Regions from separate parts of the Homo sapiens genome. Here region 1 is linked to region 2. The links are contacts of gene promoters, found by promoter capture Hi-C in human tissues and cell types (Jung and others, 2019). All regions are on one chromosome and are shown on one strand. The core of a region is centred on a gene start or on the middle of the fragment in contact, and the rest is flanking DNA. Distances in the headings are between cores, read along the strand shown. Region 1 has its middle 55 kb from the start of B4GALT7. Region 2 holds the start of B4GALT7 (beta-1,4-galactosyltransferase 7).

The links. Contacts are between HindIII fragments. The study calls those that stand out against the background at their distance.
Region 1: a fragment that was not itself captured here is called in contact with the fragment with the promoter of B4GALT7 in region 2 in 3 of the 25 tissues and cell types used here (bladder, lymphoblastoid cells and thymus).

The regions. Positions count from the first base shown.
Region 1 is chr5:177,651,979-177,658,044 of GRCh38, forward strand. It overlaps the pseudogene SIMC1P1. Among named protein-coding and RNA genes, the nearest start is that of B4GALT7, 55 kb to the left of the region's middle. The HindIII fragment of the contact is 6,089 bases long and covers 891-6,066 here.
Region 2 is chr5:177,596,666-177,602,122 of GRCh38, forward strand. B4GALT7 (beta-1,4-galactosyltransferase 7) reads left to right here and starts at 3,467. Exons shown (of 6, transcript NM_007255.3): 1 at 3,467-3,595. The coding sequence starts at 3,546. It overlaps TMED9 (transmembrane p24 trafficking protein 9), which reads left to right. Exons shown (of 5, transcript NM_017510.6): 5 at 1-577. RefSeq lists enhancers at 2,620-2,719, 2,920-3,099 and a silencer at 3,280-3,819. The HindIII fragment of the contact is 7,199 bases long and covers 925-5,457 here.

The DNA.
Region 1 (6,066 bases), core at 2,685-5,184, 56 kb after region 2:
CAAAGTCATTCTTATGCCTTTGCATCCTCATAGTTTAGCTCCCACTTATGAGGGAGAACATACGATGTTTGGTTTTCCATTCCTGAGTAATTATGTTTTTTTAACATTAGAATAACATGCAGCTGATAAAACGATTATTGAATGAATACTTACAATGTACCAGGCACCATGTTGTGCACTGGGAATACCATTGCAAGCAAAATGAATAATGGTCTGAATGAGGTATGAATTTTTTAAATGTCTATTACATATTTTTTAATTTTAAAATATATATACTAATTATATATAAATATATATAAATTTTAGTTTTTATTTTAATGCCTATAATATATTAAGTAATTTTAAAAAGTTAGCATGACCCCATTGGGAAAGAATTATACATTTAAATATGTTTGTGCACACACAAGGAAAATTTCTGGAGCAATACACAAAAACTGTAGTTATCTAGAGTAGAAATAGATAGGGGCAGGTTCTTACATAAGAATTTCTTACCTGTATTTACAGTTTATGATTATTATTATTTTTGAGATAGAGTCTTGCTCTGTTGCCCAGGCTGGAGTGCAGTGGCACGATTTCGGCTCACTGCAACCTCCACCTCCCAGATTCAAGTAATTGTCATGCCTCAGCCTCCAGAGTAGGTGGGACTACAGGCGCGTGCCACCACTCCCAGCTAACTTTTGTATTTTTAGTAGGGACAGGGTTTTGCCATGTTGGCCAGGCTGGTCTTGAACTCCTGACCTCAGGTGATCCGCCTGCCTCAGCCTCCCAAAGTGTTGGGATTATAGGCGTGAGCCACCACGCCTGGCCTATTTACAATTTAAAAATAATGTTTATAATTTTTTTTTCCAGATGGAGTCTCGCTCTGTCACCCAGGCTGGAGTGCAGTGGAGCCATCTTGGCTCACTGCAACCTCTGCCTCCCAGGTTCAAGTGATTCTCAGTCCTCAGCCTCCCAAGTAGCTGGACTACCATGCCTGGCTGATTTTTTGTATTAGTGGAGATGGGGTTTCACCATATTGTCGAGGCTGGTCTCGAACTCCCAACTCAAGTGATCTGTCCACCTCAGCCTCCCAAAGTGCTGGGATTACTGGCGTGAGCCACCATACCCAGCCTAATGTTTATAATTTAAAATGGGAAAAAATTATTTTTCGAATGATATGATTATGTACCTTTAAAACATAAGCAAATCAGAGAACCCACTGGAGGGTACAGGGTTTCCTTCTGGAGTGAAGTAAATGTTCTAAAATTAGATAGTGGTGATGGCTGCACAACTCAGAGAATTTTATGGTATGGTATGGAATTATACTTTAATAAAGCTGTTATTAAAAGACCCACTGGAATAAGGTAACACTTTACAAATTAGCTAATACAAAAATACAAAACTAAATCCCTACCAGACAGGAAGGAACACTTTGTCTTCATGGGTAGCCAGACCCACCAACCTCCCAAAGACAGCTCAGGATAAATGAGGGATGTTGGAAGTGATCTGCAGGCTTTCAAGGAAGCTGAACTTGATTTAAGACCCAAGTTAATTTCACATCTGATGTATTAAATTCAAAATGTAGATGAATTTTCCTTTCTATTCTATGGCAGCTCCATACAGCTGTAGTGAATATTATATTAATAAGTTCACTAACTTATGCGATTGTGCCACTGCACTCCAGCCTGGGTGAGAGAGCAAGACTCTATCTCAAAAAAAAAAGGAGTTTTAAAAAACAATTTTTGTATTAAAAAACTCTCGTGAGTCTATTTTTCCAAAACCATCCGTTTAAAAAATAGAATTATATTTTGTGACTTGCTTTTTTCCACTTAACTGTTTACTACTACCATCCCCACCTGATGTTCCCTTGGAAACCTGGTATGAGGTTTGAAAAAGTTTGCCCCAGGATCTTAAAGATGGAGACAAGCAGTGGTAAACCTGCTCTACTAGTTAGCATCTGGTTGAAGCTACCTTAGTTTCCTCATTTACCAAACAGGGATAATAATACTACCTACCTCATGGGGTTGCAGTGAAGATTATGAGTTAATCCAAGTAAAGCACTTGACATGGTACCTGGCATAAATGCCAGCTATTCTTATTATGTGATGCTTACCATGATTGATATGTTTAACCCTACATAGCACATAGTCATTCAGAATCAAAACACTAGCTCCATAAAAAGGCACCAAACCCAAGGAAGTCTTATAGTTTTACTGATCACCAAGAAGCAAATCTCATAAAATGAAAGTTATACTATACTTCTGCTTAGAAAGACAATATTGTAAAGACATTAACTCTCCTTTAATTAACTTATAAAACTAATGTAGTGGTTCTGAACTGGTGCAATTTTACCCCCTACCCAGGGGCTATTTGGCAATGTCTGGAGACATTTTTGATTGTCACAAGTTGAGGGGTTACTACTGGCAGGCATCTAGCGGGTAGAGGTCAGAGATGCTATTAAATATCCTACAGTGCATAGGACAACCCCATGCAACAAATAATTATACGGCCCAAAGAAACAATCTAATGCAGTCTTTGACAAAATTATTCTAAAATTCATTTGGGGGAACAAATGGGTACAAATAGCCAGGACATTTTTTTGGGGGGAAAAATAGTAAGGAGACACATACGTACATATGTATGTATTCCCCATATGTTGAATTGTAATCCCCAAGGTTAGAGGTGGGGCCTGGTGGGAGGTGTTTGGGTCATGGGGGCAGATCCCTCATGGCTTGGTGCTGTCTTCACAATAATGAGCTATTGCGAGATCTGGTTGTTTGCATCTGTGGCACCTTCGCACCCCCACTCTCACTCTCTTGCTCTCTCCATGTGACGTGCCAGCTCCCACTGTGCCTTCCACCATGATTGTAAGCTTCCTGAAGTCTCATCAGAAGGTGAACAGATGCCGGCACCATGCTTCCTGTACAGTCTTTGGAACTGTGAGCTCTTTTCTTGATCAATTACCCAGTCTTAGGCATTTCTTTTGTTTTTTAATTTTAAAAAATTTTTATATAAAAGTCTTTGATCCATCTTGAATTGATTTTTTGCATAAGGTGAGAGATGAGTATTCTCAGGGATTTCTTTACAGTAATGCAAGAACAGCCTAACACATATACTGCTTTATGAAATCCCGAAAGATATATCAAACTATAAAAATAAAACAGGAAAGTTATGGTATTGAATAAAGAAATCAATGAAACATAATGGAAAACCCAGAAACACAAGTAAATAAAATAATTTGGTATAAAAATATGTTACGGGCCAGGTGTAGTGGCTCACACATGTTGTAATCCCAGTGCTTTGGGAGGCCAATGTGGTAGGACCACTTGAGGCAAGGAGTTCAAGACCAGTGTGGGCAACATAGTGAGACCCTGTCTCTACCAAAAAATAAATTAATTAATTTAAAAAATTAGCCAGGCATGGTGGTGTCTGCCTATAGTCCTGCCTACTCAGGAGACTTGAGGCAGGAGATTACTTGAGCCCAGGAGTTCAAGGCTGCAATGAGCTATGATTCTGCCACTGCACTCCAGGTTGGGTAACAGTGAGATTCTAAAACAAAAAATGTTACAAATAATTGGAGAAAAGATAATTGTTTTAAAATGACTGACACAATTGATAACACCATATTTTATAATCTAATATGTGGAATGTTTCCATAATACATATATAACCAGGATGTATACTATAATTAATGTGTGCATTTCATGTGGTAGTGTTTCTTTTTAGAAAAGGTGTTTTTAAAATGACAGCAAGTCTTAGATTTGTTGTTGTCTTAGAAATAAGGCAAGAAATTAAATTTTATCCTTAAGTAAAATGACTAACTATTTAAGAAAGAAGGACAAAACTGAAGGTCTAAACATGCCATAGAAGGTCTAAACATATCATGGAAAGTTTGCGAAGGATGAATTTACAAAAGAAATTTGTGGTGACCAAGTTGGCTATAATTAGAAGAAACTTACTTATAAGTATTTCTAAAGACTGCTTCAATTAAAAAATACATGTGTGTATATATATTTATATACACATTGATATGAAAACTAAAATTTTGGTCTCCTATATTAGAACAATGTTTTCTTGAAGTATTGATCTGCTTTTAATAACATTTGCAAGAGATTTTGACCTAATTCTGAAATTTGTTTCTTAAATTTTCAACTATCTTCTGAAGTGCAGCTTTTTTGTTTGTTTGTTTTTTAGTCTTCCTTTCTCTAATATCAGTTTTAAAATGAATCTTCTTCATTTAGAATGGTAATTTCATATTTTGAGGTAGAGTTTTCCTGTGGAAGCTTCTCAGATTCACATCTCAGTAGTTAAACTTTTGCTGTATCTTGTTTCATGTGATTTGCAGGTCAGACATTTCTGCCTTTTGGTCTTCCACTTTCTCTCCTTGAGACAGTATATCTTTTTGTTTGGTGAGGTGATAATTCTCTTTTAACTTTTTCATCTTCTGTAACTTTTTTTCTCCAGCTCTAACTCTGCTTTAACGGCCTGACACTGAAATGTTCTATCTTGAAGGCCTAGAAAAGTTGTTTTCCTCCAGTATATCCTGATTCTGTGCTCTTGGCTTTCTTACTTTCTTTCTTTCTTTTCTTTTCTTTTTTTTTTTTTAGGAGTACTCATTTTTTAATTTGTTTATTTTAGTCAGGATATTTTCTGAAGTAAAATTTCACAGAAAACAAAATTTTATTTTACATGTACATTTCATCTCTTTAAAGTCAAGTTAGCTCTTTTTCTTTAAAAAAAAAAAAAAAAAAAAAAAAGACAGTCTCACTCTGTCACCCAGGCTGGAGTGCAGTGGCACGATCTTGGCTCACTACAACTTCTGCCTCCAGGTTCAAGCGATTCTCCTTTCTCAGCCTCCAGAGTAGCTGGGGTTACGAATGTGCGCCACTACACCCAGCTCATTTTTTGTATTTTTAGTAGAGACAGGGTTTCACCATGTTGGCCAGGCTGGTCTCAAATTCCTGTCCTCAAGTGATCAGCTCGCCTCAGCCTCCCAAAGTGCTGGGATTACAGGCATGAGCCACAGCACCCGGTCCTGAAGATAACGTTTTTATGACTTTTATTTGAAACATTATTGGTTCTTTTTTTTTTTGAGGTGGAGTCTTGCTCTGTTGCTCAGGCTGGAGTGCAGTGGCACGATCTCAGCTCACTGCAACCTCAGCCTCTGGAGTAGCAGGGATTACAGATGCCCACCACCATGCTGGCTAATTTTTGTAGTTTTAGTAAAGACAGTGTTTCACCATGTTGGCCAGGCTGGTCTCGAACCCCTGACCTCAGGTGATCTGCTCACCTCGGCCTCCCAAAGTGCTGGGATTACAGGCATGAGCCACCATGCCTAGCCAGGTTCTTTATTTAAATATTTTGTTTTCTAGCTTTAAGGAAACCTTTTCTTTCTCTTAAGCTACTTATTAGTTTACAGTAATTTGGTATACTTTGTGAACAAAGGTGGAAACATTTTTTTTGTCCCTATTTGATTCCTCTAAAATTCAGAAACTATCCATGAGTATTCTTATTTTTTATGGCAAGAATTATTTACATAAGTTTAATAAAATTTGCTCTCTCTTTATAACAGGATGCAGTTGGAAACATTGGTTATATATATTACCAAGGCTTTAACTAGAGCATCATATTTGAGAATGTGCATATAATGCCTGGCTTCAAGGGTTCCCAGCCTTACAGTGAGTAAGGCTGTTAATACATCTGTTCTTAGATTATAGCCCTGTGCATTGTCTTTGAGTTCCTGTTATACACTGGTAGACTGAACTAAATCTTAAATTCTTCTAGATTCCTCCCATCTTTTCTTCCATGAAATTAGTAAAAACAGGAACTGCTCTGTTCCTGAAATCCTAAAAGCTAAAACTAGATAAATTTTAAGGGGCAAGTCTCATGGCTGATGATGAGTCACACAGAAAGTTCACCAAACCATCCAGTGCCATAACCAGACGTTCAAAACTGAAAACCAGGACAATAAGTTGACATTTTCATGCTGCAGACAGCTTTTCCCTAGACGTTAGAACAAGACTACATAATCAGACTCCTACTCCTCTTAATCCTACCTTTTTCACTTGGCAGGATAACAGTGTAATT
Region 2 (5,457 bases), core at 2,217-4,716:
GAAGGTTGGATTAGAGAAGCCTCGAGCTCCAGGTAAGCGATTTGGACATGCCCACCTTTCAAGAGGGGCTGCAGGCACCCACAGGCACAAGCTGAAGGCAGCAGCTTGGCTGGCTTAATACTGAGCAGGTGGTGGGGTAAATGCCTGCCCCCCTCCCTCTGGCCTCTGGGCCCTTTGCAGTAATCACCCAGGGTCTGGTAAAGCCACTGAGAGCCCTACTGGCACCTCAGAATCACAGTGTTATTGATCAGGGATGTGAGGCTGCTGTTGGGGGTTGGGGGAGGCAAATGGGCAGGCAGTTTTGAGAAGAACCTTCTAATAAGAAATGTGAGGGAGGTTACAGCAGTGTGTGAGAAAGACCAGGAAGAAGGAGACAAGTTTGGGGGCTGCTTCCCCTAATGGGATGATGCAATCTGGGCTCATGCTGCCAACTAATTCTTCCACATGAAAAAAAAAAGTTTTTTGGCGGGCACGGTGGTTCACACCTGTAATCCCAGCACTTTGGGAGGCTGAGGTAGGTGGATGGCCTGAGGCCAGGAGTTTGAGACCAGCCTGGCCAACATGGTGAAACCTCATCTCTACTAAAAATACAAAAAATGAGCCAGGTGTGGTGGCGCATGCCTGAAATCCCAGCTACTTGGGAGGCTGAGGCGGCAGAATTGCTTGAACCCAGGAGACAGAGGTTGCAGTGAGCCAAGATCACACCACTACACTCCAACCTGGGCTACAGTGAGACTCTGTCTCAAAAAAAAAAAAAAAAAAAGGCCGGGAGCGGTGGCTCACACCTGTAACCCCAACACTTTGGGAGGCCAAGGCGAGCAGATCACGAGGTCAGGAGATCGAGACCAACCTGGCTAACATGATGAAACCCCATCTCTACAAAAAAAAAAAAAAAAAAAAATACAAAAAATTAGCCAGGCGTGGTGGTGGGCGCCTGTAGTCCCAGCTCCTTGGGAGGCTGAGGCAGGAGAATGGCGTGAACCCAGGAGGCGGAGCTTGCAGTGAGCCGAGATCACTTCACTGCACTCCAGCCTGAGCAACGGAGCAAGTCTCCATGTCAAAAAAAAAAAAAAAAGTATTTTTAAAGAACAGCTTTAAAAGTGCAGAAAAATTGTGAAGACATTTTCCCTATTAGTAACATCATGCATTACTTTATCCAGACTTCCTTAGTTTTTACCTACTGTCCTTTTTCTGTTCCAGGATTCCACATCACATTTAGTCACTGTGTCTCCTTAGGCTCCTTTTGGCTGTGACAGTTTCTTAGACCTTCCTTGTTTTTGATGATTCCTTGACTGTTTTGAGGAGTACAGGTCAGGTATTTTGTACGATTTCTCAGCTAGGATTTGTCTGATGTTTTTCTCATGATTAGACTAGAGTTGTGGGTTTTTGAAAAGAGACCACAGGCTGGGCATGGTGGCTCACGCCTGTAATCGCAGCACTTTGGGAGGCAGAGGCAGGCGGATCACCTGAGGTCAGGAGTTCGAGACCAGCCGCCAACATGGTAAAACCCCGTCTCTACTAAAAATACAAAAATTAGCCAGGCGTGGTGGCAGGCGCCTGTAATCCCAGCTACTCGGAAGGCTGAGACAGGAGAATTGCTTGACCCCGGGAGGCAGAGGTTGCAGTGAGCCGAGATCGTGCCACTGCACTCCAGCCTGACTGACAGAGTGAGACTCTGTCTCAAAAAATAAATAAATAAATAAAATAAAATAAAATAAAAAAGTAGAAAAGAGATCAGAGTTGAAGTGTCATTATCAACATGGCTCTTAGCTGGATATCACATTTAAAAATTAGATAATTTGGGTTTTCATTTGAGATCTGATTTCTTGAGAGTGTGAATCTGACAATCTGAAGTAGAGCTTCATCCTGATATAGTAACAGCTAACCGGATGGAGTGGTCCCCTTTAGATGGGCTGTGCATTGACCACGGTTCTGGGGTAGGATGCAGTGCCCTGGGGGAGTCAACAGGAAGGGGAATGGGTGGATTATATACTTCCAGGTTTACGGGGTAAAGGGGTTACTGGGAATGATTCATTTCCCACCCACGGTGAAGTTCTCTCTGGAGCAGAGTGATTAAGATCATAGATTGTGGGGAAGAACAAAACAAAAACCCCAAACCCATAGATTTGCAACCAAACTACCTGATTTGCCTCTCTGTGCCTCAGTTCTCTCAATTTTAACTTGGGGATAAGCACCTACCGATAAGGACTACGTGAGATAACCCTCATGTAGTAAGAACTATTAACAATGACTGGCACATAATAAGAACTTAATAGATGTTTGCTATCTATTAGGAAACTTAAAAGTTTGCCTGGAAGAGCAGAGGAGGTCAAGTCTAACAATTGCCGCTTTCTTTCCCCAGGTAGGAGGCTAGTAGGAGGGGTGGGGGGGCTGGGGGTGAGGGGGATGGTTAAGTTCCCACGGTGACGGGGCAGATATGGGAACTCAGTCTCCTATTCCCTTCTTCAGTTCTCAGCTCCACCAAAGTACCCTTTTCCTGGATGACAGCTGTCATTTATATGGCGTTGAACTGTGTGCCTAGCGCTGCACAAGTGTTTGCACTTTCTCCTTGAATCCCCACAGCTACCATATAGAATAGGAGCCATTGATATACCCAGGTGAGGAAACAGATGCAGAGATGTGGCTTGGTCAAAACACAGCTGAATTGGCAGAGTCTAGTTTCTTTTTCTTTTTCTTTTCTTTTTTTTTTGACGGAGTCTCGCCCTGTCACCCAGGCTGGAGTGCAGTGGTGCGATCTCGACTCACTGCAAGCTCCGCCTCCTGGGTTCACACCATGCTCCTGCCTCAGCCTCCCGAGTAGCTGGGACTAACAGGCGCCCGCCACCACGCCCGGCTAATTTTTTGTATTTTTAGTAGAGACGGGGTTTCACCGTGTTAGCCAGGATGGTCTCGCTCTCCTGACCTCGTGATCCGCCCGCCTCGGCCTCCCAAAGTGCTGGGATTACAGGCGTGAGCCACCGCGCCCGGCAAGCAGAGTCGGGTTTCAAATTCAGTCAACTTGTCTTCAGGGCTCGGCTCCTAACGCCTGCGCGGGCTGTCAGCTGAACTCAGCGCCGAGCCGTGAGCTTGGCTTTGCCCCTCCAAGCTTGCGCGGAGAACGCGCCGCCTGGGCCGAGACGGGGACCCCGGGACGCTCCCGCCTCCCCTCGGAAAGAGGACGGAGATGCAGATTCTCCCCGAGCGTTGGTTTGGGAGTCTGGACTCTTAGGTCCAGTCCCAGCCCAGTGATTTGTTGGGAGGCCCTGGGCCTCTGGGCTTCAGTTTCTCGGGCTTCCAGGCGGGTCCCGGGGCGGCTAGGAAGGAGCCGCCCAGAGAGGGAGGCGCGCCCGCGCTGCTCGCAAGCAGAACCTTGGAGGCGGCGGCTCCGGGAGCTGGCGGCGCGGCCGGAGCGGCGGACCCGGCGGACCGGGGGGCGGGGCGGACAGGCCTGGGCGGAGCGGGAGGCGGAGGCGCCGCGTAGGCCCGGGAGGCCGGGCCGGCCGGGCTGCGAGCGCCTGCCCCATGCGCCGCCGCCTCTCCGCACGATGTTCCCCTCGCGGAGGAAAGCGGCGCAGCTGCCCTGGGAGGACGGCAGGTGAGCGGCGGCGGTGGGCCCGGGCCCCGTCCTCCCGGGCGCCGCTCCCTTCTCGGCCGCCGGCGGAATCTGGGAACCCGAGGCCATCACGTCTCCATGTCTGCGGGTTTCTGTGAGGGCGTGTGGTTCTCCCTGTGGGTCCCTGGCGCTCTGTTCCGGTTTCTGTCTGTCCCTGTGGGTCTCTGCCTCCCCCGCCCCCTCTCCCTTTCCGCGGCACTCGTCCTTCCCCCAGCACCTTCCCCCCGGCCCGTGGGTCCGTATTTCTCCATTGACTTCCCTTTGTGAGTTTCTGATCCCCTCTTTGCTAGTCTCTCTCGTTATGTGTTTCGTTGTGTCTGTGTTTCTCCACCAGCCTCCCTCTATCTGCATGCGGGTCTCTGACTCCGCTGACCTCTCACCATGGATTTGTGTTTCTCAATTTGTCTCTGATCCCTGAGGACGTGTATTCCGTTTCTCTGGTCTCTGCCTTCCTCATCACATCCATATAGCCTCAGACCCTACCCTTCCTCCTTAACACTTCCCCCCATCCTTCGCAGGCCACCAGCAGAACCCACCAGACAGAAGCTCCGTGCTCTGCCTGGCTGGTCACTGCCTGGCACGTACTAGACACTCCTTATACACGCATTAGTCCATTTCCTGTGCAGCTGTATTGGCCCTACGTGAAAGATGCGAGCTTGGCCCACACCTTAGCTAATTTTGTTTCTCACTAAAGCAGAATGGGGAAAGCGATTTGACTGCCTCCATTCGTGGGGCACTTGAGATGTGTCCCTGTAAGTCTTCTCACAGAACACATGACTGGATCTCCTCCTCGTGAATGACACCTCATTTCCTTCATGTTTCTTAAGTCCGTCAGGTGCCATAAGATTCTGGAATTTAGTGGCCACAACTTGTACTTTTGGGGATTTTTCAGACTTGGTGTTGAAAGGGGAAAACAGGAATATAATAGAAAGCGTGGACTAGCGTTCGACCTGGGCAGGAGTCCTCCGTAATTATGTGAGCAGAGACCCCTGCATCTGTCCGACCGCAGCCTTTCCGTCACTGAGCCAGTTATGACAGTATTGGCTCTGCAGGGCTGTGTGAGGATTAAAGGACCGCACACATGTAAAGAGCATGGCACTGCCTAGCACAACAGGAGGTGCCAGTTGTCTTCCCGTTACCTTTGCAGTTTTGAGGTCCTGTAACCAGAGCAGCTGAGGATTCAAACCTCGTAGTACGAAGGTCTGTATGAGACAAGAAAGGAAAGGTAACAGAGGAGCATTTCTATTTCCTGATCCTTTTCCATAGCTGTTTCCAGAGAAATTTACTGATGTCAATTCTGTGCTTTTGACACAGGGTTGGTGCAAAGATCCACGCAACTGATGCAGGCTAGTGTAGCTATCTAGTGTAGGCTCTGGAGCCAGCCTGCCTGGGTTTGAATCCGCCTTTTACTAGTCTTGGGCAGTGATTGATGAGGGAGACAAAGCCTCTTCTGGACTGCCCCTCAGAGCCAGGGTGGCCTGGGCCTGGGAGCCACTGGGACTGCAAATCTGGTTTGCCACCTGGTGGCACCAGGAACAATTGTTCTCGGTGTCCACTGTCCTGAGGAATTGGGACTCTGGGTTCAATCCAGTTGCTCTGCGGTTTGTGCTCTTAGAGCACAGGATGATGCCCATGGGGATGTGGTCCTCATAGGAGAGGGGAGCAGGGCCGAGGGAATTAGCGTGTGGACGTGCTCGGAGTACCCAGTCCACGCCGTTCCCCTGGATAATAGTCACTGCTTCTTTTCATGAAGGTGGGATATCACCCCATATCCATCTCTCCAGTCTCTACCCTGTCCCCAGAAAAAGCCCAGAGGGCAAGGGAGAATCTGTAGAGGTTCCAGC